Regions from separate parts of the Homo sapiens genome. Here region 2 is linked to region 1. The links are contacts of gene promoters, found by promoter capture Hi-C in human tissues and cell types (Jung and others, 2019). All regions are on one chromosome and are shown on one strand. Each heading gives the region's core, a stretch centred on a gene start or on the middle of the fragment in contact. The rest is flanking DNA. Distances are from core to core; before and after follow the strand shown. Region 1 holds the start of GSTA3 (glutathione S-transferase alpha 3). Region 2 has its middle 33 kb from the start of GSTA4.

Region 1 (4,786 bases), core at 235-2,734:
CATAGAGTAATTAAAAAACAAACTAGGGCTGGGCATGGTGGCTCATACTTATAATCCCAGCACTTCGGAAGGCTGAGGAGGGAAGATTGCTTGAGCTCAGGAGTTCAGGACTGGCCTGGGCAATTAAATAAAGTCTCTATTTAAAAAAAAAATTAGCCAGGATTGGTGTCCCACACCTGTAGTCCCAGATACCCAGGAGGCTGAGGCAGGAAGATCACTTGAGCCCAAGATGTTAAGGCTGCAGTGAAACATGGCCACATCACTGCATTCCAGCCTGGGTGACAGAATGAGACTGTCTCAAAACAAACAAAAAGCATGAAAAAAGCCAAGCTAGGATTATGGCAATAAAATAACCAATCCTAATTATGAAACCCACCAATCTGCTGTTTAAAAAGAATTATCAAAGCAACCAAACTCTCCCACATAGTAGAAACATCGTGACTACACAAAAAATATTTTTTTTTAATTGGATAAGTGCTTTGGCAGGGTAGCCCAGGGTAATATTTCATTTGGCAAATAGAAAGAACTTGCATATAGAAGGAATGTGCATGTTCTGTTGGACAGGGAATATAACAGCTTAAGAGGGGGTTATTATTATTCTTAGATCTACTTGCCTACTACCCTAAAAGTCCTATATATTTAGATTCACTTGCAATTTTGAGACTTTAAACCCTGCTCACCCTTTGGTCCCAGATACTTCGAACAAGAAGGAGGAGGAGGAAGAAGAGGCAGAAGAGGAAAAAGAGGAGGAGGAAGAAGAAAGAGGGCAAAGAGAACAAAGAGAAGGAGGGAAGAAGGAGGAGAAGAAGAAGGAAAAATAGCATGCTGCTTGGTGCTCAATCACAAAGTCACTTATATAAGCAGTAAACTAATCTGTGTAAAATCAATGATGGAAGTGTAAATTTAGATCCTGATTGTCAAGCATTGGTGATTGGTTTCCCATTTGGAAGTGCCAGCTCTAGAGGAATACGACCATCCAGATGTATTTTCTTTTCATTGATCAAGTGGTGCTCCCAAATGTGTGACCCTGCCAGCTTTAAATCTAGTATAATTGTGTGTTGACTCCTGTGAATCACAGGAATGAATCACACGAATACATGTTTTTAATAAACAGCTTTTCCATAAGCAACCTTTGGCATGTGGCCTGGCACTGATGTGGTTGTATTTTCAGATTGCCCACAATGATACCACTCTTACTTTTCTCATATCATCAAATTCTTTGCCCTTGTTTTCTAAATTGTTGAATATTATTTTTCTTTACCGACCTGTCCTTCAGGAACTAACAAACAATGCTTAAATTGTCTCCTAAGCACACAGAAAAACAGCAAGAACATAAAGTACTCACACAAACTAACACATTTAAATTTGTTTTTCTTAGTGAAGTAGACATGAGAACATTTATGAAGATGTTTAAGGTCAATACTAACTTGAGTAAAGTCTAGCCGGTCTCCGCTCAGCTTCTCAAGGCCACCTCCTGATGTGTATGTTAGCTGTTTTAATACTATGACAACTCCTGCCTTCTGAAGGGGGTGGAGTCTAGTTGGGAGCAGCCACTCCCACACCACTTTAGTCTCCAGAGTTCCATGATCTGCTAGGAAGAAAATGACAGCAATTAATTTCAAGGCTATCCATAAATGCACAAAAAGATTTCATATCTATTTGGCTGCCTCAGAAGGTCACTGGGGACCAAGTATCCTGTGAACACTGCTTAAGGAGGATCTTGTTAAATAGGCTGCAGATTTATGACAGATGAGAAAACATTGTGGGGAGAGGAGGAAAGTGTCATAGGAGAGTCATAGGAGATGTCAGGAAAGGGGACTTGATAAAGAGCATAGGGAGATTGCCTTCTAAATTTGTTTAAAAAGACTAAATTACAAATAATGTCACAAAATTTTATAGGCCCAAAGAATCTGGCTGAGTTGTCCTTGCCCTGGGCAGACAAAAGACCTCAGCTGCATTCCCCGAGGTCATTTGCAGATTTTTCTCTGTGACTTACCAGTTAGCCTTTCTCCCTAGCCCAAGGCTCTGCATGCTGTTTCTCCTATTTGGAGCACTCTTTTCTCCCCTGCTCCAAGGCATCCTGTGCTTCCTCTATCACATCACTCTTTCTACATTCCGTGCATCATGTCTGCTTTCCCCCTGTTGAGTATGAGCTCCTTGAGGCAGGGCCTCAAGTCCTGGTGGTTAACCAAGTCCCCGTGGCTAACCACAGTGCCTGGACATAGAAAGGGCTTAATACACGTATATGTAATTTCTACTTTTCTAAAGGAAATTGTCTGATATACATAAATCTGGAAAGAACACTACAAAGCCTTGATGTACCCATCACCTTGCTTCAAAAATTATTGACAATATTTGAAGCAAATCTCAGACTTAGTTTTTTTCCTCTATAATCTAATCTGTATCTTTTAAACTTGTGGGTGGGGGAGTTATTTATGTAACAGAAAAATTGCAAAACTAGTACAAGTTTCCCAAATACCCCTCACCCAGCATCCGCTAATGTTAACATCTTATGTAACCATAGTACAATGATTGAATCCAGGAATTTAATGTTGATACACTATTGACTAAACTCCAGGCCTTACTTGAATTTCACCAGTTTTTCAATCAGTATCTTTTTTCTAACCCAGGATCCCATCCAGGACCCCAGCACTGCATTTCGTTGTCACATCTCCTTAGTTACCTCCAAACTATGGCAGTTCCTCAGTCTTTTCTTGTCTTTCATGATGGTGGCATTTTTGAAGAGTAATGGTCAATTATTTTGTGGAATGTACCTCAATTTGGGTCTATCTGATGTTTTCTCATGACTCGATTGACGACATACATTTTTTGCAAAATGTCACAGCAGTTGTTCCAGTCTCAGCTGATCATTTCCACCCATAATTTCATATCCGAGACATGGTATGTCTTATTAATTTTGATCTTAACCTTAATCCCTTGATTAAAGTAGCGTCTGCCAGGTTCATCAACCGTAATATTACTATTTATCCCTTTGGAATTCATAAATATCTTGTGGAAGATACTTTGTGACTATAAAAATAGTCAGTTTCAAAATAAGCTTCTGCTCACTAACTTTAGCATCCATTATGGATCTTGCCTGCAGCAAATATTACTGTAGTGTTTGTCTAATAGTGACTTTCTATTTCCCTCATTCCATCTACATTTAATAATTCGAATTCTTCTGTAAAGAAAAGCTGTCTCTTCTCCTTTATTTATCCTTCCATTCATTCAATTATTTTCTTAGTACAGATTTATAGATATTTTATTCTAAAGGTTACAATCTAATACCATCGATATCTATTTTATTGCTCAAATTGATCCACCTTTAGCCTGTGGGAGCTCCTTCAGATTGGCTTCTGTGTCTTTTATGGCAAACCTCCTCTCTTATTGTGAGCATTTCCAGATACTTTCTGTGCCAAAGATGTTCCAGGCTTATCTTGTCTTGTCTGTGTCCCAGCCTTGAAGTCAACCATTTCTCCAAAGATCCTTGTTTCCTTTTATTGGGGAAGGTATTTGAAAACTAGGATCTCGGAACTATGTGTACTCATTGCTTCTGGGTTTTCAATGCTTCTAGGCTCTCCCCAGTGGGAAATATATGTATGTATATTAACCCACACATACATACACTTCTGTATGTATTTATATAGCTATCTGTATAAATATGATAAAAAACCATGAGTTCATACAGATACCTACTATTTCAATTCAATAGATTCATTTAGCCGTGTCCTTTCATTTCTAACCTCTCTGACAAGTGAGAAACCTGGCTATGATTATCTAAAATATACAATATTTGCATATTTGTTTAATCCTAGTACAAGTAAAATAGTTGCAGAATTGCCAATGCATACCTCTGTGAAAAACAAATCTACTAACAAGAGTACAGTATTTTTCTTTCCTTCTTTTTTTTTTTTTTTTTTTTTTGGTCTTAAGCCTTACAATATCCAGTCAAAATTGTGGTTTTCTGTGGTTATTTAGGTCAGTTCTTTTCCCCCCCACCTCCTTCAGTTTGGTAATCTATTCATTTGAAATGCTGTTAGGTTGTTAGTGTTTGTATATTCCACTTTGCGGTTTCCTTACATCCTGGTTGGTTTTAATTAATTACTTAGTTTTCTGGTATGCAAAACTTTACCATGATTCTAAGAGCCAGAGTTATATGAAAAAGTGTCTTTGGAGACACTGTCTCTCTCTGTCCCTAATTCCCATTCCTAGTCCCTCTTTTTCCCACCCATTTCTCACTCATCCCCCTGTAGACAACAAATCTCACTAATTTCTAACTTTCCCCTTTTGTTTTTCTTTTGCTCAAGTACATATTTCCTTACAACCCCTTCTTTCTTACATAAAGGGCAGCATACCATAATACTTTTTTGCTCTTTGTTTTGTGTGGTTGTTGGTTCCCCCACCCTTCACTTAATGATAGGTCCTAGAAATCACCACCATCTAAGTTCATAGATGTCTTCCTTTATTTGCTACAGCTGCAAAATACTCCATCGTATGAATGCATCATAGTTTATGCAAGCACTCTTTATTTATTTATTCATTTTTTTGAGACAAAGTCTCACTCTGTCACCCAGGCTGGAGTCCAGTGGCATGACCTCGGCTGTCGGCAACCTCTGCCTCCCAGATTCAAGTGATTCTTCTGCCTCAGCCTCCCAAGTAGCTGGGACTATGGACTACAGGTGCGCACCACCACGTCTGGCTAATTTTTGTATTTTTATTAGAGACAGAGTTTCACCATATTTGGCCAGGCTGGTCTTGAACACCTGACCGCATGATCGGCCCACCT
Region 2 (5,027 bases), core at 835-3,334, 52 kb after region 1:
CCTCCTGTGGGATGTAAATTGTAAGCTTTGCATTGTTGTGTATTCTCTGTCAATGAAAAGAAAGCTTGGACATAAGGTATTTCACTCCATTTGCCTTCCCTCTTACAGAAAAGGTCAAACTGCAGGATAGTATTGTAATTTGTACTTCCCTTCAGGTGGCCATTTTTCCCCATCAGAGAGAGAATATTGGGGCCAGGCTGTAGTGTAGAAAAAAATGAGCCACCTCTTTTTCGGGGTTTGTGGGTCAAATTGGTCCCAATGGCTTAGGATGCATTTCAAGGGTGAACCTGTTGATGCCTGAGTGTTTCCCATCTGAAAGACAAAACTGCCTGCGGTTTTGGTTTGTTTTGTTTCTCCCCCTGCCCAAGAACCCGTGACAGTCCCTGAACCCTGCTGATCGGAATAGTTGTGCTCACTGATGCAGCAACAGAAACAACCCCTACCCAAGAACCCGCAATGGTCCCTGGACCCTGCTGATCAGAACAGTTGCGCTCACTGACGCAGCAGCAGAAACATTAATTTTCCTCCCAGACCACATGGAGGACCAAGGAAGGTCGGATTTAGTGGCCCTTACTGATGCATTCTCGAAAACCTGCACCCTTGCCTGTCCTCCTAGACCACAAGGAGGGCTGAGAAAAATCGGATTTAGTGACACTTACCAACGCATTCTTGAAAACCTGTTAGAGTCCTAAGCATTCACCTGTTAGTATTGGGACCTTACCCATGTCCTATAAAGATGTTATGCCCCAAAAATGAAGTGGAGGGCCATACCCTGAGGGAGGGAAGGGATCTCCAGGGTTGGAATAGTGACACCTTTTGTCCTCACTTATATGAATAGGAAGGATACAATTTCTGGGGCTCCCCATATCCTAGCTTCAGGAATAGCTTTTGTTAGGCCTGTTAGTCTGAGGAGGGATCCTAAAATTCCAGGTAGTCCCCCCTACAACAGGGCTTTGGGCAATAATTATGTCTTTCTGATTGGTGAGCCAGGGTGCCTAAAGAAGTTAACAGAGTCTTGGAGTTTATACTAGAAGTCATTCTTATAGGAGAAACTAGAAAAGCCCCAGAGACAGGGAGCGATTTTTAGAAGTGGGACTAATCTCGGAGAAGAGAGGAAGTTTGTCTGGCAGGCATTAGGACCCAGGGGGCAAGGGTCAGGATAGACAGGATAGATGGGCGAGTCTCGCTTAGGTGACACGCCTTTGAGAGTTCCGCTCATGACCGCAGGGTCAGCCAACTTGTTGTCAGGACCCCGGAGCTGAATGGCTTTCCTCTCTCTTGACTCTCAGCTCAGCCCAGAAGTACAGGAAAAGCAGAAGCCGGTTCCAGGCAAACCAACGCTCCCAACTCTGAAGAGTCAGGGGTTGTTAGAGAGCCCTTTCCCAGAAAGCCTGACACCTGTGTCTTTAGGCCGGCGGCCGCGCTAGTCACCTTTAACTGGCCAACAGGTGCCCGGTATTTAGCCCCCAAATTCTAAGGAAAAATAGGACAGAATAGCAAGCAAAAGGGGTCCAATGGTACTCACTGCTTGCCAATAGGTGACAGTCTTACCGCTTAACAATAGGCAATGGTCTCACCACTTGGTGATAGTCTTACTGCTTGGTGATAGGCAATAATCCCTTCTGGGTCACCAAAATGTGTCCGGAATTGGTGGGTTCTTGGTCTCACTGACTTCAAGAATGAAGCCACAGACACCTGCAGTGAGCGTTACAGTTCTTAAAGATGGCGTGTCTGGAGTTTGTTCCTTCTGATATTTGGACGTGTTTGGAGTTTGTTCCTTCTGGTGGGCTCATGGTCTCGCTGGCTTCAGGAGTGAAGCTGCAGACCTTCGTGGTGAGTGTTACAGCTCTTAAGGCAGCACGTCTGGAGTTGTTCGTTCCTCCTGTCTGGAGTTGTTCATTTCTCCTGGTGGGGTCGTGGTCTCGCTGGCCTCAGGAGTGAAGCTGCAGGCCTTCACAGTGAGTGTTACAGCTCATAAAGGTAGTGTGGAGCCAAAGAGTGAGCAGCAGCAAGATTTATTGCAAAGAGTGAAAGAACAAAGCTTCCACAGTGTGGAAGGGGACCTGAGCAGGTGGCCACTGCTGGCTGGGGCAGCCTGCTTTTATTCCCTTATCTGGCCCCACCCACATTCTGCTGATTGGTCCATTTTACAGGGAGCTGATTGGCCAATTTTGACAGGGTGCTGATTGGTGTGTTTACAAACCTTTAGCTAGACACAAAAGTTCTCCAAGTCCCCACTAGATGAGCTAGACACAGAGCACTGACTGGTGCATTTACAAACCTTGAGCTAGACACAGGGTGCTGATTGGTGCATTTACAAACTTGAGCTAGACACAGAGCACTGACTGGTGCATTCACAATCCTTTAGCTAGACATAAAAGTCCTCCAAGTCTCCACCAGATTATCTAGATACAGAGTGCTGATTAGTGCATCCACGAACCCCGAGCTAGACACAGAGTGCTGATTGGTGCGTATACAATCCTCTGGCTAGACATAAACATTCTCCAAGTCCCCAGCAGATTCAGGAGCCCAGCTGGCTTCACCCAGTGGATCCTGCACTGAGGCCACGTGGGTGGAGGTGCCTGCCAATCCTGCACCACGCACCTGCACCCCTCAGCCCTTAGGCGGTCAATGGGACCAGGCACCGCGGAGCAGGGGGCAGCACCCATCAGGGAGGCTCGGGCAGCACAGGAGCCCATGGGGTGGGGGGGGGGGGGCAGGGAGCCCGCACCCACCCAGAATTCATGCTGGCCAGTGAGCACCACGCAGCCCTGGTTCCCATCCATGCCTCTCCCTCCACACCTCCCCACAAGCAGAGGGAGCCAGCTCCAGCCTCGGCCAGCCCAGAGAGGTGCTCCCACAGTGCAGCAGCAGGCTGAAAGGCTCCTCAAGCATGGCCAGAGTGTGCGCAGAAGGCACTGAGAGTGAGCAAGGGCTGCCAGCACGCTGTCACCTCTCATTAATGTCTTCAGAGGGAGGTCACTCAGGTTTGCAGATTTCCTTTCAATCAGTTCCAAAAGCAGGAGCAAACATATAGCTGCACCCTTTCAGACATCTGTTATAATTGAGCTAAGAGACATGTCATCTCTTGCTCTGAGCCCCTTTCAAGGTGTTAATGTAATGTTGGATTTCCCTTCATTTATAACCCATTTATTCATTCCTTTACACTCAGCTACTTCTCCCCTGCTCCATTAATACCTAAACTTTTTCACCTTTGGGAAGAACATTAGAACCGCCACTGTGCTGGTCTAGATTGCAGGCAGCAATACTAGTCTAGCAAGTACCTCCTCCTCAGTCCACTGCCATTCAGGTGGGGTACAGTTCCATAGGTGGAGAACTAGTGAGCTATTTCTATCACCAGGCAATATAGCTGCATTCATTCAGCCCCACTTTTGCTAGACAGGATGAAGGCACAATCCTTCCCCAACAGGCCCTTAGGAATTCTGACACAAGGTCTGAAAAACACTGACAGTTTCTTGCTTAGAAATCCCTGCTTCCAGCACTTCTAGTTGCAGCCCCAGTCCTAGGACCATTGCATCATGTTGGCAATAGGCCCCCAAAATCTGGCCATAAACTGGCCCCAAAACTGGCCATAAGCAAAATCTCTGCAGCACTGTGACATGTTCATGATGGCCATGATGCCCACACTGGAAGGTTGTGGGCTTACTGGAATGAGGGCAAGGAACACCTGGCCCACCCAGGGCAGAAAACCACTTAAAGGCATTCTTAAACCACAAACAATAGCATGAGCGATCTGTGCCTGTTCTAATGTTCCTCCAAAAGGTGAAAAAGTTTAGGTATTAATGGAGCAGTGGAGAAGTAGCTGATTGTAAAGGAGCTGCAGATAACTAGCCCAACCCATCCCTTTATTTTGGCCCATCCTTTTGTTTCCTGTAAGGAATACTTTTAGTTAATCTATAATCCATAGAAACAATGCTTATCACTGGCTTGCTGTCAATAAACATGTGGGTAAATCTCTGTTCAAGGCTCTCAGCTCTGAAGGCTGTGAGACCTCTGATTTTCCACTCCACACCTCTATATTTTTGTGTGTGTGTTTTTAATTCCTCTAGCGCTGCTGGGTTAGGGTCTCCCTGACTGAGCTGGTCTTGGCAGCATCAGGTAGGTTAGAAGAAAAACGTTTTTGAGGTGATTTGGGAAAGACAGAAAAAATTATAGTCGTTATACAAGTGTACTCTTCCCTTGGCAAAAATTGCATAGTCGTGTCACTGAAATGTGGGTTAGTTGCCACATGTAGAGTCCAATTAACAAGAGCAAGGTCTGATACCAAGAAAGTTAACTTAGCCCTTTCTTGCCACAGTCTTTTCACCCTCTGGGCACCATCTGTATTGAGTTGCTATTAAAATTCAGTCCTTTTACATTGACTCTTGAGCTATTGCATGTTGAAAATTGCAGGAACTTCCTAAAAATTTATCACTTTACTGTCTTGGGAGACACCATGATAAAAAGGCACTTTGTTAACCCACATGCCCTGATGAGAGAAATCACGTGGTGGTTCAGTGACTCAATCCTAACAAACCTTAACATGAACCTTACAATAAAATGAATGTGGAGAAAACATGAGGAGAGGGAGAGGAGAGACTGTGCCTTGTTAATCTCTCCTTAACAAGAGAACTCATCAATTCCCTGGCCCCCACCAGGGACCCAAGCAGGATGCTAAAGGAGTTACCACACTTTTAGAGGTCAAAAGTGGGGTGGCTAAGGAGTTCACAGACATGCCAAAAGCACCACGGGACAGCATACCCAGTGGCTTCTGGCATGGGCAAAGTCACCTTGTAAATGGGCCATGTTCCAGGTACTGACCAGGTGACAGGCAACCAGCAAATCAAAAGTCACTGGACCATTGACAAGCAATGCCTCACTCAAAGGACCCCCACTCCCCAACCCGGTCTCCACCTGGCTGCCTTCTGAGAAAGATAAAGCAGCACTGGGCCCAGCGCAGTGGCTCATGCCTGTAATCCCAGCACTTTGGGAGGCCGAGGCGGGCAGATCACCTGAGGTCAGGAGTT

What was found. The method cuts DNA at HindIII sites, captures the fragments that hold promoters and counts their contacts. A contact is called where the count stands out against the background at its distance.
Region 2: a fragment that was not itself captured here is called in contact with the fragment with the promoter of GSTA3 in region 1 in 1 of the 25 tissues and cell types used here (aorta).

What each region holds. Positions count from the first base shown.
Region 1 is chr6:52,908,214-52,912,999 of GRCh38, forward strand. GSTA3 (glutathione S-transferase alpha 3) reads right to left here and starts at 1,485. Exons shown (of 7, transcript NM_000847.5): 1 at 1,428-1,485. RefSeq lists enhancers at 989-1,681, 1,682-2,375. The HindIII fragment of the contact is 16,965 bases long and covers 1-4,786 here.
Region 2 is chr6:52,960,026-52,965,052 of GRCh38, forward strand. No RefSeq gene overlaps it. Among named protein-coding and RNA genes, the nearest start is that of GSTA4, 33 kb to the right of the region's middle. RefSeq lists a silencer at 2,013-2,213. The HindIII fragment of the contact is 4,080 bases long and covers 45-4,124 here.